2 separate regions of the Homo sapiens genome follow, and region 1 is linked to region 2. Evidence: promoter capture Hi-C in 16 types of primary human blood cells and fetal thymus (Javierre and others, 2016). All regions are on one chromosome and are shown on one strand. Each heading gives the region's core, a stretch centred on a gene start or on the middle of the fragment in contact. The rest is flanking DNA. Distances are from core to core; before and after follow the strand shown.

The links. The method cuts DNA at HindIII sites, captures the fragments that hold promoters and counts their contacts. A CHiCAGO score of 5 or more calls a contact.
Region 1: a fragment that was not itself captured here is called in contact with the fragment with the promoter of CLDN19 in region 2 in 4 of 17 cell types (M1 macrophages, megakaryocytes, M0 macrophages and 1 more); the score reaches 6.5 in M1 macrophages.

What each region holds. Positions count from the first base shown.
Region 1 is chr1:42,472,300-42,475,629 of GRCh38, forward strand. The region is part of intron 1 of CCDC30 (coiled-coil domain containing 30); the gene reads left to right. It also overlaps a transcript of PPCS not described here. Among named protein-coding and RNA genes, the nearest start is that of CCDC30, 11 kb to the left of the region's middle. The HindIII fragment of the contact is 2,175 bases long and covers 427-2,601 here.
Region 2 is chr1:42,738,296-42,741,620 of GRCh38, forward strand. It overlaps CLDN19 (claudin 19), which reads right to left and starts at 1,941. Exons shown (of 5, transcript NM_148960.3): 1 at 1,546-1,941; 2 at 126-290; 3 at 1-18. The coding sequence starts at 1,768. RefSeq lists an enhancer at 3,298-3,325. The HindIII fragment of the contact is 4,341 bases long and covers 761-3,325 here.

The DNA.
Region 1 (3,330 bases), core at 264-2,763, 270 kb before region 2:
ATCGATCAGCAGATATTTATCTTTCATATACTGTCATACTGCAAACTGTTATGTCATGATTACTTGCAACCTAAAAAAATTGATATTGATAGCAGGCTTAGACCAAGAAGTTGCAGAAAAGAACTGAATTAATGAGAAGTCAACATAAATTATAAGACATATTCTGTGAGTAAAATAAATCCTGGATAGTATAGAATTAGGGGCCTCTCTAGCTTCCAGAGGAATCCTTTTATTTCTAAATATGCAATAAAAGGAACAAAGACTTCTTTGGACTTTAAAAAAGAAACAAGAGCCCTTTGGGAGACTTTTCAGATAAAAGTTGCAAACTTTAGAACAGACAGAAAAGCTTTTTTTTTTTCCATTGTACATAATTTTCATTAAGTATATCATGTCATTTGTTATTTTAGAAGATACACAGTTGTTCAAAGCTTACATTTTTCGGTATTACCAGCTGTTTCATTTAAGTGCTCATAACTAGATAACAACAGGAAAAGTAAAATATACATTGTAGAGAGTCTGACTCTAGTCATATATACATAGACTTCTTTATTCCTGCTTTCAGTTTTCCTCACATAGCAGCTTTGTATGTGTATTGCCAGCTATATTTTGTTCTTTAGAAATATCTTGGATTTTCCAAGATATATATACATACACATACATAAGTGTGATGAAGGTTCAGGTAGCTTACTAGCTTTCTATTGCTAGTACCCTAAAGACTAGTACTCTAATAAGGAGACTAAGGTGGCACCCACATAGATATCTTGCATCCTCAGTTGTGTGTGTGTGTGTGTTCATATACATATGCTTATTTCTTCTATCAAGGGAAAAGTTCAGTTAGAAGACATACTTCACCATCTTGAAAAAGAAGAAATCAATCCCCTTGCTACTACAGAAGAACAACTCTGTTTGGTGCTTATTCCAGCCAGCACAGTGAAGACAGGCTGAGGACTGCTACCACAGATGTAGAAGAGCTTATAGTGAAGCACATGGGTGAAACAAAAGAAGTGAGAACTAATAGCATAGAATTTTAAAGACACCTGTGATTTTGTTCATTGCCCTTCATTAAATTGACATATTAAAAACTAATGTTTGGCTATCACTGTATAGTTTGAAAAGCACCCACGTGTAGACCTTTTTTTTTTTCTAATGAAACATGGCAACAGTCTGTGTTGGTTTCCATTAAGACTCCATGTATAGGATGTTGCCCAGTGATGACTGGCTGAACATCTAAACAGGACTGCTCCAGGTAGCTTTCATTATCTTGGTAAAGTCATCCTTCTCTCAGGAGCTGACCTTCTAGGTGACTCTTTTTTTTGAAGGCTTGGAAACTAATGTCGGCATAGTATCAGTGGATCTGCTTCTCAAAGGTGGGCTTGTATTAACCAAAGTCATAGAGATGAGACACCTCCTTTTTAATTGACAATAAGAAATATAATTGCCAGAGGAACTAAACATGTATTTTTGGTGGCTGATGTATTCTCTTACAGGCACATTATGTGGGAAGCCAACTTTTAATTAGATGTTTACTTGGTGAACAAATGATTCTAACTTTTTATAGCATTGGCTGAGATAGCCAGGTTTCCACAATAGGGCTATCTATATCTACCCTCGTTTCTGGACCTCATATCCTAGGACCAGGCACCTAGTGCTTAGAGGAGTAGATAAAGCTATTTTTTTTTTGGCCCTATTGTTACTCTCTTGGATGTTTCCAATACTCATCAACATACTTTCTTTAAATGAACTAATGAATTATCTCAGGTTGCCTGGGAATCACTCTGCTATGTTTTCACATCTCAGCTTCACACAGGTAACATTTTTAAATTTAATTCTTAAAGGACAATCCAATCTCCAAATTCTAAAGAAGAATGCAGCTCCTTTAGAATGAAAAGCAGTATAGCATCATAGAGTGTGAACTTTAACATTAGGCAGATGGGGGTGAAAAGTTGCCTTTAGCATTATCTTTCTGTTTAACTCTGGGCAAGTTACTCAACTGCTTTGAGCTTGAAATTTCTGTCTGTAAGATAGAGATGTTAATAGCATCTTCAAAGGGATTTGTGAGATTTATACAGGTTAGTGTGTATAAATTACCCATGTACTTGGCACCTAGCAAGTGTTCAATAAATGATAGCTATTATCATTAGAAATGGATATTGTTCCTGCCATTTTAAAGAGGAAACGAAAGTTTGCCAGGAAGTGATAAAGTTGAACTGTGATTCCTATGTTCCTTCTATACTATTCATCTTTCTGTACATATTTTAAGGAGTTTTCCTATAGGCTTCCAAAGAATTCACCAAAATGCAATTCAGTTATTTCGGTAGTCTACTTCTAAGCACTTTGGCGTACTAAGAACTCAGTCTCTGGTTTCTACCCATCAGAGTATGAATTCTAGCTCCTCCCCTTATTCCCTATGTGACAAGGCAAGTCTCTTAGCCTCTCTAAGCCTGCTTCTTCACCTCCAAAGTGGGAGAATAATAGTCCCATGTGGTTGTGGAGACAATTAAATATTTGATGTACTTAATATAGTGCCTGGAGCATATTCGCTTTCTACCTGTTATTATGCACATAAAAGTAGCTTTTTGTGAAGCCGTTATATTAACTGCAAGCTTTTCAAAGAATACACAACAATTTTTAATGTAATCTCCTGTTAACATTTAATCATCTTAGCCATCAGTTTCAGCATAGCAGTATAAACCTAATTATTATGTAGATTTTTTTCTGTTCATGGATATCATGACCATATTTCCTAAACCACAGAGAGGGAAACTTGATTTAAAACCTGGTATGTTGATAGAAAAAAATATTAGAGATTGGGACTGTCCCAGAAATTTGTGGTTACATGTCATCATACCTATGGGAAACATAGTGTATGATAATGTAAGACAGCTGGAAGGGAGTTTAGAGCCAGATGCCAACACTTGAGGAAAGCTGAGTTTTCTGTTGATTTCTCAGATTATAGTCATGATAGAATGGTGATCTCTTAATTGCTCTTTCACTTCCCGGACCTTTAATATGGATTAAAATATGAGCCATGGACTAAAAGTAAGAAAATGTGTTTTTTTTAGGTGGAAAATTATGCAAACTGTATTTGTAACCTAACAGAGGGAAGAGAAGCATTTTTTCATGGTTATGATGAAAAGGAAAATGAACAGCTTAGACATGAGTTTAAAGAGCTCCAACTCAAACAGAGTTGTTTTTCCTTTTGTGGGCATGTCATTTTAAAACTTCTTCCCTAATTCTAGAAATTAACATATGACATTATAGAAAATTTGAGAAATGTATGCTCTTATAAAGAAGGGAAAAATTATATCTTCTACCCCAAGAAAAGTATAA
Region 2 (3,325 bases), core at 691-3,190:
CAGTCAAAGTGCAGAGGCCTAAAGACAAAGCAGAGGGGCGCTCAGCTCTGCTCTGGCCCCCCGAGGCCACTGGGGCTGGGGCTGCCTGCCATGGTTGTGATTGTGCAGGAGTGAGGGGCACTCACCTGCCAGGATGAAGAGGGCTCCCCCGGCGATGGCAACACGGCCCTTGGCAATGGGGTTGCTGTCTCCCACCCGCGTACACTTCATGCCAACTACGCTGAGGACCATGGCCACGAAGCCCAGGAGCACGGCCACCACCATCAGGGCCCGCGCTGATTGGATGTGACCTAGGGTGGGCGGGATGACACTGAGTCGGGCTGGCGGGGATGGGGGTTGGGTCGGTGCCTGGGGTCGGTGGAAGGAGCCCAGCTTGAGAGGGGCTTGAGCAGGAGCTGGCCTGGGGGGTCAGACCACCTTCTGGCAGGTGCAGGATAGTGAGGAGTGACAGCCCGGGCATGAGGACAGGGTGTGGGGGTGAGAGTCCCCTTCACTGTCAACGCCATTCTCCACTCGCCCTTGCAGGCTTTTCCGGTAGTATGATTCACTCTGCTGTTGCTTTCTGGCCTGGGGACTCCCTCTTGGGCTTGGCCCATCCTCCCAAGCAGCTGAGGGCAGCTCCAGGGTCCCCTCAGGTTTGGTAGGTGGAAGAGCTGGGGGTATCTGAGGCCCAGCTCAACTCAGCCTGAGCCCCGCAGCAACCCCTCCCCAGCAGCCATTCAGACAACAGTCACTTTCCCCTCTGCCCATGGCAGCTGGAAGCTTGCCTCTTCACGGGTGCATGGGTCCATCCTGGGCCCTGGGGGGTGCTCAGGAGACCTGGGTCCCTCAGCGAGGCTAGATGACCTGCCTGAACTGACCTGCCTGAACTGGCACAATGGGGCTGGTTGAAGGCCGCTCTGCTCCCAGCTCCCATGGGGAGCAGATTGTCCCTGGGGGCTCCTGGGCAGATTGCAGGTGGATCACCTCCACCCCAGAGTTAGAACTTCGGCGGTGCCTGTCAGGCTCATCTCCACACCCCAGAAGGAGAGGGACTGCATGCAGACACACCTGTCTGTGCATGCATGTGCACGTGTGTGCGTGTGCATGCGTGTTTGCATGCATGTGCATGCACCCATATGCTGGCACACAGGCCTGGGAGCAGGACTAGGGAGCAGGTGTGCATCATACAGTGTGTGTCTGTCTACTGACTGTGGGGAGAAGTGGATGAAGGGTCTTAACTGAGTCTTTCAGAGTGCCACAGGTATTAGTATTCCCCTTTAGAGATGAGAACATCACAATGGGAAGAGGTTTGGTGACTAGTTCAAAGTTATAGTGACAGAGCAGGAATCTGGACCCACAGCCGCCAGACCCTAGAGCCCTCCCCTCCCACAGGGCAGCAGGCTGGCCTGGACCGTCAATGGGCACAGGGCAGTAGTGGGGGAATTGTAGAGCGGAGGCTGGAGGTTGGAGCCCAGCGCAGATAGCAGACTGTGAGGAAAACTTGCTCCAGACTCCCCTGCTGTTCCCACCTCCCATCTCCCACCCCGCCGGCCTGGGGCCTACCGTCCAGGGCGAGCAGCGAGTCGTAGAGCTTGCACTGCACTTGCCCAGTGCTCTGGGAGGCGCAGGACATCCAGAGCCCTTCATAGAGGCCCACGGCAGTGATGATGGCGTCGCCTGCGTAGGAAGACTGCTTCCACTGTGGCAGGGCTGTGCTAGCAATGATGCCCACCCAGCCACCCAGGGCCAAGAAGTAGCCCAGGAGCTGGAGGCCTGAGTTGGCCATGGCCCAGGAGAGAGGACCGAGGGTCCCAGGACTCAGAGCTGGGCCAGGGTGCCAGCAGGGGCTTTGGTCATGGCCAGGTGGGAGGAGCAGCTGGGCAGGGGGAGCAGCGAGAAGGAGGGTCAGAGGCAGAGAAGGAGAGGTGGTGCGGCGGCAGCGGCTGGAGCAAAGGCAGTGGCTCTGGACTCCAGAATGCAGGGGGAGGCCCAGGGGCTGGAAAAGGCCAGGGCCCGCCCACAGCAGCCGCCTAAGCCAGAGCAGGGTCCCCAGCAAAGCTCATGCCCAGCCCCCTGGGGGCGGAGGGCCGGCCCATGGCCCAGGTGGTGTCCCTGCCCCGCCCCGTTCCGCAGGGATAGGGAAGGGAGGGGCTGAGAGGAATGACCCAGCTGCCCTCTGGGCCTTTCCCCACAGGGAAACCCCTTTAGGAACCTGATTCGGGTGTCCTAAAATTCGGATAATCCCTAACCCAAACACCAGCCCTGGGAGGATGGACTTTGCTCTTGCAAGGCTGATCTAACCCTTGGGGTTTTCTGCCCTTTGACTTTAGGACAGAAGGGAAAGGAATGCCAGTTTGCAGCGGGTAAAACTAGAGTTAGATGTCAAGGATAACTTTTTGGCAGGGGCTCTGAAGCTGGATGTGGGGAGGCTGAGCTAGCGGTGGGGTGTTGGGAAGAGGGGTCATGGGTACCTGGGAGCTGTGTGTGCCAAAAATCAGGGAGGCCAGACCAGGAAATATGTACTGTGGGGTCTTTTTGAGATCTGAGGGGGACAGAAAAGGGGCCCTATCGAGGCTGGGCCAGCGCTGGCTGCCGGCCAGCAAGGGGCCTGGTGGGGAGCTGGGGAGACAGCCCCAACCTTCTGGCATCAGCCTGAAGGAAGGCGGATTGCTCAGCCCCTTAATCCCCTTGCTGGCTGGCTTAGTAGCTCCTGCTGGGACTGGAACACTGGGCCCTGGCCCCCAACTCTAGAGCAGCCTGGCGCGGAGCAGTGGCCTCTGCACATTCCCGGGGTTCAGGCTGCCCGCTCCGAGCACCCCCACCTCCCTCTTCTCTCTCCCAGTCTCTCTTGGTCTTCAGGAGTAGGGGAATGTTTAACTCTCTTCCACCTCATTAGCAATCCCCTCACGTTCAAGTGGGCCCCACTGCAGCGTGGGTGCAGAAGGAATGTCACAACCCTGCTTCCACTCCTGCCAGCCCCCCGCCGCCCCCTCCGTCCCCAACAGCCCACCCACCCTTCCTGGACTGCACTGGGGGAAGGCAGGGTCCTGCTGCAGACCCCTGCTGGCTTCCTCCCCCACAGCCCCAACCCCCCTCTGAAGGGACAAGTCCCCAGCCCGCTCTTGCATTCTTCACGTGGCTATGCAAACGAGAGGGTGCCAGGCGCTGAGCAGACAATGGCAGCCCTGTGTGCCCGCCCAGGGCGTAGGCCTCTGGTATGGCCTGCAGCTCTGGCCAGAGATGGGGGAGTGGTCTGCCATCTGAGGGTCAAGGGTGGGCACTGCTTGACCTGTGGTGGTGCACACTGGGACCCTCAGGCTCTCTGTGCTGGGAGGGTCAGAGC